3 separate regions of the Homo sapiens genome follow, and all the other regions are linked to region 2. The links are contacts of gene promoters, found by promoter capture Hi-C in blood cells and fetal thymus (Javierre and others, 2016). All regions are on one chromosome and are shown on one strand. Each heading gives the region's core, a stretch centred on a gene start or on the middle of the fragment in contact. The rest is flanking DNA. Distances are from core to core; before and after follow the strand shown. Region 1 overlaps TMEM164 (transmembrane protein 164). Region 2 holds the start of TMEM164 (transmembrane protein 164). Region 3 overlaps AMMECR1 (AMMECR nuclear protein 1).

Region 1 (4,300 bases), core at 792-3,291, 150 kb before region 2:
AAGCCTGTGTTATCTCTATTGATGAAGAACACCAGGATCTATGGGGCAGGCAGAGCAAAAGAGCCCAAGGAGAAAGAACCAGAGAAGTAGGAGAACCAGGAGAAAGAGGTACCCTGGAGCTCAAAGGAGAAACAAGTGTCTCAAAGGAGGGAGGACCAGTAATGTTACATCCACTGACAAGCATGCTCTCAGTTCATGCAAGGTTCTGCGGCTTTAGAACACAGCAAGGCACAATCCTGACCTCTAGAGACGGCAGTCTAGTTGGAAGAAAGATGAATAATTAACACAAGGCAGAACAGTGGGTAATTAATAATTATACAAACCCAATACATAGTATTTACTATGTGCCAGTCATTGTTCTGTATACTCTTCATGTATCAGCTCAGTGAATCCTCATAACACCCTATGAGGTAGGTACTATTACTACCCTCATTTTGCAAGTGAGAAAACAGACACAGAGAGGTCAAGGTACTCGACCAAATGCCAGAACTAACTAGCAAGTGGGATAACTAGGATTTGTACCTACAGTCTGTCTGAATCCAGCGACTCCATGGACAGGCAGCATAGAGGCATCTCTGCCCACCTGGTTTCAAACACCAGTTTAAACTCTAGTGCAGGCCAGGCACAGTGGCTCATGCCTATAATCCCAGCACTTTGGGAGGCAGAGGCAGGCGGATCACTTGAGGCCAGGAGTTCCAGACCACCCTGGCCAACATGGTGAAACCCTATCTCTACAAAAAATGCAAAAACTAGCCGGGCGTGGCAGCATGTGACTGTACTTCTAGCTATTCTGGAGGCTGAGGTGCGAGAATTGATTGAACCCGAGAAGCAGAGGTTGCAGTGAGCCAAGATCAGGTCACTGCACTCCAGCCAGGGTGACACAGTGAGTATCTGTCTCAAAAAAATAAAAATAAAATAAACTCTAGTAAAGGGACTCCTAACCTTGGTGGTACTATGCACTCCTTGGGCAGTCTGGGGAAGTGTAAAGGCTCTCTCTCAGAATAAAGTATTTAAGTATACGAAATAGAATATATAGGATTATAAAAGAAAATAATCATGTTGAACTATAGTTATCAAAATGCTTTTAAAAGGCACATCTGTTTTTAAATTTTGAGGTAATGATGAATGCCAATGATTTTTTGAGATATCTGCAACAACTCTAACATAAGAGGAAAATAAGTGTAATTTACATTAACAACAGCATGCCAAGTGCTGCTAATGTAACTGTGGTTTGTTATCTACATTCCTTACTAAAGGATATACCACAAAGTCGGCCCTCCATATCTGCAAGTTCCGCATCTGTGGATTTGACCAACCACAGATCAAAAATATTTTTTAAAAATGAAAATAACAATAGTAAAAAAAAATACAAATAAAAAACAGTATAACAACTATGTATATAGCATTTACATTGTATTAGGTATTATGAGTAATCTAGAGATGATTTAAAGCAGGGATGTCCAATTTTTTGGCTTCCCTGGGCCACATGGGAAGGAGAATTGTCTTGGGCCACGCATAAAATACACTACTGATAGCTGATGAGCTGAAAAAAAATTTTTTTCAAATATAATGTTTTAAGAAAGTTTACAAATTTGTGTTGGGCCACATTCAAATCCATCCTAGGCCACAGGTTAGACAAGCTTCCTTTAAAGTATACAGGAGGATGTGTGTAGGTTAGATGCAAATACTACGTCATTTACATTAGGGACTTGAGCATCCTTGGATTTTGGTATTTGTGGTGGGGGAAGTCCTAGAACCAATTCCCCATGGATACCGAGAGATGACTGTATTTCAGTTGCAGTTAATGGACATAAAGATGTGATTATTTTTCTCATTCAAGGTCATGGGCCTCACGTGATGTACTCCCATAAGTCTAGTGGACACTGTGGGAATTAAATGAGATCAAGATCACACATGTAACAAACCCAGTGCCTAGTAAACATTAGCTTGTAAGATGTATAATAAATTATGTGCAATTTGCAGTACAGGAATACATCCCTGAATAGAAGGTCATTCATTCATTCATTCATCACCTACATACCAAGAAGAAATGAAAAATTCCTGTCCTCAGGGAGACCAGCATGTAAAGACTATACTGTGAGGATGACAAAAATGGGAGGAACAGAGGCAGCTGGCGGGAGCTGGGGTAGAATAGTTACAGAGGGCTTCTTGGAGAAAGTAACTACTGACATGAGTTTTGACAAATGAATGTTTCTAGGCCCACAGCTGGAGAAGAGCATTCCTGGCAGAAATCACAGCATTTTCAAAGGCACAGAGGCATGAAAATTGGATAAAATACTCAGGGAACCCCAAGGATTTGGGTATCACCACAGTGTACAGTATAAAGAAGGGAGTGTAAAGACATGAGGTTGGAGAAGGGGTTGGGTATCAGGTCATACGGTCTTGTGCACTGGGGAAGATGGGGGGCCACTGAAAGCTTCCAAATGACAAAGAGCTATGATCCTATTTGAGCTATAGAAGTAGCTCCAGGAATGGGCTTAGGGGGAGCAAAGGAGGCTGGCTGGAGAGAGATCACACAGAGCCAATTATCATCATTGAGGGAAGAGATGTGCAAGGCTTGGCCCAAGGTACTGGTCCTAGAGATGGTAAGGAGAGGATGAGTCTGAGAGATATTTAGGAGGTAAGAGCAGGAGGACCCAGTGATTTCTCCACACAGCAGCCAATATGATCTTCTCCACAAGCAGATTGGATCATGTTGGACTATTTAATAAACAGTGTGGGGACAAATGGGAAGCCAGCTGGAAATAAAGTTGGATCTTTATCTTGCACTGTATATCAGGATATATTCCAAGTGAATAAAAGACTTAAATGTAAAAAATAATAATAAAAGGAACTATAAACATACCAGAAGAAAATATGGGATATATATTTTTTATAACCTTGGAGTAGTAAAGGGCTTTCTAACCATGACTCTAAATTCAGATGCCATAAAAGATAAATTACATAGAAAGGTAAAAATTCAGCTGGGCAGGGTGACTCATGCCTGTAATCCCAGCACTTTGGGAGGCCGAAGTGGGCAGATCACGAGGTCAAGAGATCAAGACCATCCTGGCCAACATGGTGAAACCCCGTCTCTACTAAAAATACAAAAATTAGCCGGGCGTGGTGGCACGTGCCTATAGTCCCAGCTACTTGGGAGGCTGAGGCAGGAGAATCGCTTGAACCCGGGAGGCGGAGGCTGCAGTGAGCTGAGATCACGCCACTGCACTCCAGCCTGGCAACAGAGTGAGACTACGTCTCAGACAAAAAAAAAAAAAAGAAAAGAAAAGAAAAAAAAAAGAAGAAGAAAAAGAAATTTTAAAATCCTGCATGGCAAGAATAAAACATTAGCAAAGTCAAAAGAAAACACAACTGAGGACAATATCTGTAGCTCATATCATAAAGGGTAAACTGTTAATATTTATATGTAACAAGCTCTTAGGATTCAAATTTTGTAAAAAGGCCAACACAATTGAACAATGAGCATGTGATAGGAGCATGTAGTTCAAGGAAGAGGAAATCAAATGCCAATTTTATTTTATTTTATTTTGTTGAGACTGAGTCTCACTCTGTTGCACAGGCTGGAGTGCAGTGGCACAATCTCGGCTCACTGCAACCTCCACCTCCTGGGTTCAAGCGATTCTCATGCCTCAGCTTCCCGAGTACCTGGGAATACGGGCATGCGCACCACCACACTTGGCTAATTTTTGTATTTTTAGTAGAGAGGGGGTTTCGCCATGTTGGCCAGGCTGGTCTCGAACTCATGACCTCAGGTGATCCACCCACCTCGGTCTCCCAAAGTGCTGGGATTACAGGCTTGAGCCACCATGCCCAGCCAAATGCCAATTTTAAATATGTAAAAAGACACTTGGCTTCACTCAAAGTGAAATTAAAATTAAAATCGAACTGATATACCTTTTTTTTTTAACCCATCAGATGGGCAAAAATCCAATTTGGTGAGGTTGTGTAGAAACAGACACTCTCATACATTGCTAGTAAACATTTAAACTGGTACAACTTTCATGGATTTGGAAATATCCAACAAAAATACAAATGCATATACTGTGATTCAGCATTACCACTTCTGGGAATATATCCTATAGATATTCTTGCACACACGCAAAATGGCAAAGGTACCAGTTCCTTCAGTGCAGTGTTATTTACATTATCAAAAGATTTGAAACAACCTAAATGTCCATCAATAGCAGACTGAAAAAAATAAATTATGATATAGTGTTGTAACTTTGTGTTATGATTAAAAGCAAGAACCGTGGAACCATACTACTGGCTTCAAATCCGG
Region 2 (4,140 bases), core at 1,336-3,835:
CTAGCTGGGACAGCCCTGGACTTCCTGTGAATGGCATCACTTCCCAAGAAGCCCTCTCTTAAAAAATGCTGCCCACTCCAGCCCCGATGCTTACAGCCACCCAATCAAAAACAGCCACTTTATTCCAAAGTTATCCATACCTTCTTACCATATCTGCAAGAAGGGAAGGGGCTGGGGTCATTCACCACATCCAGAAGCCTGCAATCAAATGAGTTCCTAGGAACACAGTGCAAGCAAGTATCCAAGCCATGGGTAGACAGTGTGGTGCTCATCTGCCTGAGTCTTCCCACAGGACTGCCCCACCACCCACTGCCACCCTCACTTTGGGGTTGACAGCTTGCAACCTCAAGGTGGATGAGTTTGCTTTCTAACCCAGGCACTAATTCATCTTCTGGCTGCAAGCAAATGACCTGCCATTCCTAAACCCCTCCAGGCCTGTAAAATGGAGATAATAATCTCAACCTCCTGCCCCAAGCTAGGCTGTCACAAGTCTCCAAAGAATAACCTTCTACAAACATAAAGGCAGTAAAGATGCTAATGACAGGTTTCAAAACTGCCCCTGAATAAAACACACCCGGTTTTCCACAGCCTGAAATCTAAAAAAGACTGATTGCTCTCCCAGTCTCCTCTTCCTCCTCCTCCATGATTTTATAGCTTTAGAACATCTCTCCACACAGGCTGAATACAGACAGTCTCACTCTTGGTCCTCACCCAGATTATTTTTATGTATCTGGCAACTTGCCTTTTCAATCCCATTTGTTTTCCTTAGCACCGCTAATGGGTGGAAGTCGATGAGGTAAAGAAATCAGCTTCCTAAGCACCCTTGGACTATGACCATAGGAGACAGAATGACAGTAATAGGATGGAGAGGTTTGCAAAAAAAGAAATACCCTCTCACCATAGTGATCACCAGCCCAAAGTACACATGTCAGCCTGGGGACCTGCTTCAGAACTCATTTAGTAGGAGCTTGGTGCTGCTCCAATGCCTCAAAATGCAAAGGCAGACCTCACTCTAAGAGCATACACTCCCAAATGAAAGAGTCATTAAGAGAAACCTGTAAAAGTATTTCCCCAAAGTACCACAGTGTAGATGAGAAAGTTTATGCGACCACCTCCAGGAAAGAGTGTCACCAGGCCCCTGGGAAATTAACTACCACAGAAGGCAAGGGAGCTGGGTCATGGTCCACTGATGTGATTCAGAAAGGGCACCTGGCTGGGGCTGGAATTCCTGCTTGTGAAAGCCCAGGGCACGGCAGGGTTGGGCTGGGCTGGAAGGGAGGGGCAGCCAGGGTGAGTGCCAGTCGTTCCTAGGGTTCAGGCACAAGGTTCCTCACCTCCACTGTGGGGCTGACGCACTGTGCAAAGGTGAAAGAAAGCCAAACCTGAAATCGGCACAAAGGCAGCCACTCGTTGGAAAATCATTTTTAAAGGTCCCCCTGCCCGCCGGGATGAGGTGCTGTACACTATGGAGTGTCCTGAGCACATAAATGACTCTTATCACTTAGGATGCCCAGGAAAAAGTCAACAGACTCACATGCATCATGGTGACCAGGTGACAGGGGTTGAGCAGGTAGATGACGGTCTTGGTGGCGAACTTAAAGCCCACCTCCACCCCGAAGGTCAGGCACAGGGCTACTAAGAGCAGATTCTTGCTCAGGCTCTCCTTGCCTTCCTCTGGCCGCTGGGTCACCTGCTCTGGCTGGCTGCCAGGGCTACCCCTACCGTCCTCCTTCGTCTGCCTCAGGATGTGCCGCAGGGCCACCAGGATCTCCAACAGAGCCAGGGTCAGGACCACCACACTTTCCAGCAGCCGCTGCTGCCAAGAGAGGAAGGCAGCACAGTCGGGGCCCCCATTGCCTGCAAAACTGGGGTCCACGCCCCCATAGAGCCAGTCCAGGAGACTCTGGTAGCTATACCGGGACATGATGCAGTGGTTCCCCTTGACCACAGTACAGGAAGCAAGAGTGAGATGGAACACAAGCCCAGAGGGTTGCCCGGGTGGTGGACCATGTAAGGCGGGCACACCCCCACAACCCCCCTCCAGACACCAGGGCACCGAGAGTAGGGGAGGGGAAGCTACACGCAAGGCCCGGGGTAAAGTGCTGGCTCTAACTTGTCCCCACGGCTGTCTGGGGGAGCCCCCCGCGCTTCTCCAGTGGCCACCAACGAGGCAGGGTTGAAAGGAGCCGTTGGCCAATCTAAAAGGAAGGAGAGGAAAAAAAAAAAAAAGAGGTCTCAAAGAGGCAATTGCACCGGGAATTAGGAAGCGGGAGGGGTAACTAGCGAGGGAAGAAAACGGGAACGGGGCAGTGGCGAAGCAAGCAGGGGTCAGGGGAAGCCGGAGGCCGAAAGGGTCAGGGCGGGGGCCAAGGAGACCCGGCAGTGCTGCGGCAGCGAACCGGGAGCCAAAAGGGGTCAGAGCTAGGGGACACGCGGAGGCAAGGAGAGGAGCTAGCGGGGCCGAGCAGGCGGGGAGGGCGACGGGGATGGCAGGGACGCCGGACTCCTCGTCTCACGCACTCGCCACAGAGGGATCTCTTACTCCTGCAACCGCGTGGCCGTCTCTGCCCCCAGCTAGCAACTTCGCCGCCGACGGGCCCCTCCAGCCAATTTAGAGCCGTCCTTGTCCAGCCTCCCGCCCCCGGGTACACCCCCGAACCCCCAGCTCCACCCTCCGGCCCTAGACGCCCGCCCTCCGGGCAGCACCACCCCCAGCCCGCGGCCCGCCCGGGACCTGCCCCCCTCGCGCAGGCAGCGGAGGGAGGAAGCCAGAGGGAAGGCGGGAGGCCGGGCCAGCCGGGGGCTGGACTAAAGCCGGCCCCTGGACTAAAGCCGGCCCCCCTCCCTCCTCCCCGGCGCCGCAACCTCCCGCGCCTCCCGCCCAGCCCCGGGGACCGGCCGCCGCGCCCCTCGGGGCTTCACTCACCGGCAGCTCGGCCCGCGGCCCCGGATCGGGCTACTGCTCCGCTCCCGCGCTCTCCGCGCCGGGCGCTCGGTTCCCCTGGCGGCCGCCGCCGCGGCGCACGGCTCCTCCTCCCCGTCTTCCTCCCCCTGCAGCAGCCGCGCTCGCTTCCTCCTTCTTCCCCTCCCTCTCTCCTCCCCCTCCCCGCTGCCACCGCCACTGCCTCCCTCCTCCCGTCCAGTTCAGCTCTCGCCCCACCACACGCCCTCGGGCCACGACTACTCCTCCTCGCCTCCTTCCCTTTTCTGCCTCTGGCACTCCCCTCACCCGTCCACCATTCACACCTCCCACCCTCCGCGGCTTCGGCTCTCCCTCCTCCTCCTCCCTCCTCCTCCCTCCTCCGGCTCAGGCTCCGCCTCCTTCCGCCTCCTCCCTGGCCTGCCTCGTCTTCTGCACTCGGAGCCTGCACGCGTGCACAGCCACCCTCCTTCACAACCGTGTACAGAATTCGCCCCCTCGGTGAAGCCCTGTTGACTGGCTCCGCCTCCCGCGACCTGGTTCTCCAGGGCACTTCTTTCTATACTGCACACATAGTAGGCACTTAGCTGGCCCGCACTAACTTCTTGTGGGGGAATAAGCCTTTCTAGTAATGAGCAGCTTGGCTTCGGGGTGTGTGCTGGGTATGGCCGGCTCCTCTTCGCGATTCCTCCTTTCTGCCACGACTCATGCAAGGCCAGAAAGGCATCTTCTCTCCCCTTTCTAGCCACAGCCCCACTCCACACTTCAGTGCCTAGGACAGGAGCTTCATTTCCCTGCTCCTCCCCCTCCTGCTCTGATCCACTATTTTCTCTCTACCTCTTGCCACACAGACCACCCCTGCCACACCCTCTCCCTCTCCCACTTCTCTCCTTTCTCCTGACAGGCCTTCAATGGTAGGCCAGTGGGAGGAAGGGAGGCTTCCCGTGACCTCTTTCCCTCCCCCTCTTCCCCCCTTCCCCCTCCCCAGAGCAGTTGCTTCCTAACCTATGCGTGGAAAAGCCAGCCAGGACTATATGAGTGTGGAGGAGCAGCACTAAGCCCAAAACCTGGATAAGGGCAACTGACGGAAATAAAATCCCCTCTTCCTACCTGCTGCTTTTTACCGATCGGCTATTTGCTTTTCTTGAGACAAGGGTCAGTAAAAGGACCTTCTCAGGACCTTCCTCATGTTTATTTAATATTTATTGAAGACTCACGAT
Region 3 (4,063 bases), core at 80-2,579, 190 kb before region 2:
CTTAAAGCTTAAAGCAGTTGTAAGATTTTCAGTCCAGCACATACAGTCCCAGTGCCCAGCACACCGGAAGTTTGTATACTGGCCTCTTATCTTGTCTTCAAATGTGCAGGAAATTTGAAACTGTCATCTGGAATAGGTTCCATCTCTTATGTGTGTTAGATCAAACCAAAGAAGCCCCCAGCCATGCCCAAATGCTGCTTCAAAAGCCTGCCTTCCAGTCCTTACAAAAACCTTGCAGGATTAAATGTGTTAACTTTTTTATTTTTGTACAGTTTCTAAGTGATTTTTGCTAGTGATGTTAAAATGAATTAAGTTTATTTGAGGGGTGTGAGCACCTCCTCCATTTAAATAAACTGGTGACTTTCCTTTTATTTTTTAAAAGTGGAAACCCGTTGTGTGCCTCTCGATTTAAGGGTTTCTGATGACATTATTCTTAAGACCAGCATTGATCCTTTATATACAAATATATGTTTTCCTTGTTTTTTATTGCTATTTCAGAAGAAAATGAACCTTTTATTTTGCTCTACCCAGTAACTGCGCTGGTACATAGACGCACTGAGCAAACAAACTTTTGTAACCACCTCTGACTACTTTTGTATATCAAAGTTGATTACTTTTGAAATATTTGGATCTAGTTTCTAAGTTATTTTAGTGTTTTATATGTTCCCCAAAATTACTTTGAATCTGTCACCAGCATAATGAGTTCTTGGTGATACAATGGTGAGACTTGTAATGAGCAAAAAGCTACCTGGAGTAGCTCCTCTTTTCCTTCTTTCTTAGTAACCTGTTTTTTGATTACCGTAAGACATCACAGATTACCTGAAACCCCTTCCAGTATAACTAGGCCCTCCTTCCTTCCACATTTAATTGCTTAATAGTTTGAAGAAACTATTGGAAATGGGCATTTTATATGACATGTATGGCTTTACAATATTAAATATGAGCAAAAAGAAAAAATATGAGAAGGTTTATGTGGGTCTGTAAGGTATGGCTGTGGAAAGATATTGTAGTAGTTTTGACACTATTGTTATTACCTTTAAAATCATTTACCCAATAAAATGTTAAAACCGAGTTATCATTTTATGTTTCTTTTTTAAGTTTAACCTCTCTCATCATAGGATCTTGGTCTCGTCGGTACTTCTTACTAAAAGGTTAACAGTTGAAGGCTCTGAAGGAATATAGTTAGGAACAGATACTGATTTATTGCCAAACTAGCACTTGGGAAACCTTACCTGCTTGTAGCCACTCCCTGCCATATGATTTGCCAATGTCATCCTTTTGTCTATCTCTGAATCCTGGCTTGCTGATATAGATTAGCCTTTATTTGGACACCCTAACCTGGCCACATTGATCCTTTAAGGATCCTTCAGATCCTTTGCCACAGAACTCAGGCAAATATCAGACTTGAATTCTGGCGGGAGCTTAGCTGTGCTTAGGTCCGCTCCAAATCAGTCAGTGGTTATTGGGCATTTCCTCTTTGTGAGCTGGTGAGGGGCAGTAGCAGTGCTATTCAGTTAAATCATCTGATATGGGGACCCCTTCTCCTACCATCAAGGCTTGCCCATTTTCTGAGTATAGGACAGAGTCTGAAAATGCTCAAGATGTGGTCACCCAGAGCTTGTACGTACTCATACACACACTAGGCATACCACACGCTTACACTTATTACCAGCTATTTTTTCCAGTTCCAGATTGGTACCCCCAACTTGGGCTTGGGGGAAACACCTGGATTGTAGGGTAGGGCAACTGGTGGTATTGACTTTCAAGGGCCAGATAAGAGCCTATGTCAAGAAAGGAATCTCTTGGGGTGCTGCCTCTGCCTACTGTTGCCTTATCCCTTTCTCTATGGAAAGGCTACCAAGGACATTGTACTTGTGTATGGAAATACCTCTGGCTCTTTCTAAAACATTTGCTGTCTCACGCACATTTCAAGATTAGCTGCTAGTTGAATATATCCAGGACAATTTCTGTTACATTGCCCCAAAGCCCTGGTAACCATGTAAATTTTATGACACGTGCTTATGTCAATCACAGTGGCTAAAAAGTGTTCTTAGATCCTAGAGGACTATTGTGGTTTTAACCAGTGCTCCATAAAGGCAGCCATCTGCTCAGGTTTTACCTATTTTCATCATTCATGTTTAATGGGACATAAGATTTTTCAATGATTTCGACCATATTAATAGGTTCAGGTAGAATGAAGTAGTTTAATGAGCCCACAGCATTCTTTTTTACAGCATTAGTGGTTAACTCTGGTCTGGACAAATTTCAACTTCAGTAATCACACTCCACCTACCTAAATTCTTCCCAGAGTTTCAGCATTTCCACTTTAGATTTCATGCCCCTCTGGACCCTGTGTAAATAGCTTTACTGCTTCCGAGGGCAAGTATGGGCGTGTAGGATGAAGCAGTGCCCCTCTGTTGCTGGGAAATACTACCCTATCTAAGGGGTCCTATCAGTGTGAGGTAAGGAGAAGTCTGCGGTGGAGAAGTCACACCGGGATTCAGAGCTGCCAGCCAGGACAGCCAGTGAATGACTGCCCATTCAGAGAATGGCTTCTCCCACTTCCTGCAGCTTCAACCACATAAGCCAAGATAAGTATGGGTTTGGGTTGGGTAAGCTCTCATAGCTTCCCATCTGTATGCTCAAGCTTTTCACCTACAGGAGGAAGAAATGAATGGGAGGATGCAAGTGAGGAAAGCCCTGGATATACTATTTTTGGCTACTGCATTAAAAGGCCTGCCTTGACACCTGTAGCCCCATGGGACAATCTCGTGTTCAAACCTCAAACTTGTTGGAAGAACTCTTTCAAGAATTGGAGGGAATCACATTAGGTCTCAAGCACTGTTCTGAAGCCAATCTACATCCTCACCCCAAGCGCTTGGTTACAACCTTGTTTAGAAATGACCCCTTAATAAAAATTGCTGTGTATATAATGGGATATTATTCAGCCATAAATAAGATTGAAATCCTGTCATTTGCAGCAACGTGGATCAGCTTGGAGGACATTATGTTAAATAAGCCAGACACAGGAAGGTAAATACCGCATGTTCTCACTCATGTGCGAGCTAAAGAAGTTGATCTCATAGAAGTGGAGAGTAGAATAGTGGTTACTAGAAGCTGGGAAGGGTTGGGAGAGTGAAAAGGGAGAGGTTGGTTAAAGTAGGGATCCCCAACCCCCGGGCCGTGGACCAGAACTGGTCCGTGGCCTGTTAGGAACGGGGTTGCACAGCAGGAAGTGAGCAGTGGGCAAGCAAGCATTACCGCCTGAGCTCCACCTCGTGTCAGATCAGTGGTGGGACTAGATTCTCATAGGAGCATGAACCCTATTGTGAACTGCACATGTGAGGGATCTAGGTTGTGTGCTGCTTATGAGAATCTACTGCCACCCACCCCATCCGTGGAAAAACTGTCTTCCATGAAACCGGTCCCTGGTGCCAAAAAGGTTGGGGACCACTGGGTTAAAGGATAGAAAAATACAACTAGACTGGAGGAATAAGTTCTGGTGTTCTATAGCACTGTAGGGTGTCTATAGTTATGAATTTAAGATATATCTTTGTATAACTAGAAGACAGGATTTTGAATGTTCCCAACATAAAGAAATGATAAATGTCTGCAGTGACACATATGCTAATTACCCTAATTTGACCACTATACATTGTATGTATTGAAACATCACTGTGTCGCTCATAAATATGTACAATTTTGTATCAATTAAAAAATTAAAAATTACCTCTTAATGTATTATGTTTGGAAGGTACTGACTATATATATCTCAAATTGTTTAAATGGACCCACCCAGAGAGCCGGTGGAGGGTGCAGCTATACGTAAACCAACACTGACCTGCACTTACAGCTTTCCATCATGACAGATGATTACTTAATTTGACAGAGGTGAGATGTAGAGTATGCTCTCTGTCTGCAGCACACAGCTGGGCAGTGGCTGAATTACATGCCTCCGTGCTCACCAACTGCCATGGCATCTTTGAGCTCATGCTCCCATTCTAAAAGGACACATCCAAGTCACAAGGGGCGGGTAATTTGTTCCCCCTTTAGTCTCCCTCCA

What was found. Contacts are between HindIII fragments. The CHiCAGO score rates a contact against its expected background, and 5 or more counts as called.
Region 1: a contact is called between a fragment that was not itself captured here and the fragment with the promoter of TMEM164 in region 2, in 2 of 17 cell types (neutrophils and M2 macrophages). The highest score is 9.5, in neutrophils.
Region 3: a contact is called between a fragment that was not itself captured here and the fragment with the promoter of TMEM164 in region 2, in 1 of 17 cell types (neutrophils). The highest score is 5.1, in neutrophils.

What each region holds. Positions count from the first base shown.
Region 1 is chrX:110,151,036-110,155,335 of GRCh38, reverse strand. All of the region lies in intron 5 of TMEM164 (transmembrane protein 164), which reads right to left. Among named protein-coding and RNA genes, the nearest start is that of MIR3978, 71 kb to the right of the region's middle. The HindIII fragment of the contact is 797 bases long and covers 1,643-2,439 here.
Region 2 is chrX:110,001,559-110,005,698 of GRCh38, reverse strand. It overlaps TMEM164 (transmembrane protein 164), which reads right to left and starts at 2,585. Exons shown (of 7, transcript NM_032227.4): 1 at 2,521-2,585; 2 at 1,535-2,198. The coding sequence starts at 1,924. RefSeq lists an enhancer at 1,723-2,378 and a silencer at 2,481-3,340. The HindIII fragment of the contact is 10,429 bases long and covers 1-4,140 here.
Region 3 is chrX:110,191,194-110,195,256 of GRCh38, reverse strand. AMMECR1 (AMMECR nuclear protein 1) reads left to right here. Exons shown (of 6, transcript NM_015365.3): 6 at 1-1,071. Among named protein-coding and RNA genes, the nearest start is that of SNORD96B, 32 kb to the left of the region's middle. The HindIII fragment of the contact is 2,640 bases long and covers 10-2,649 here.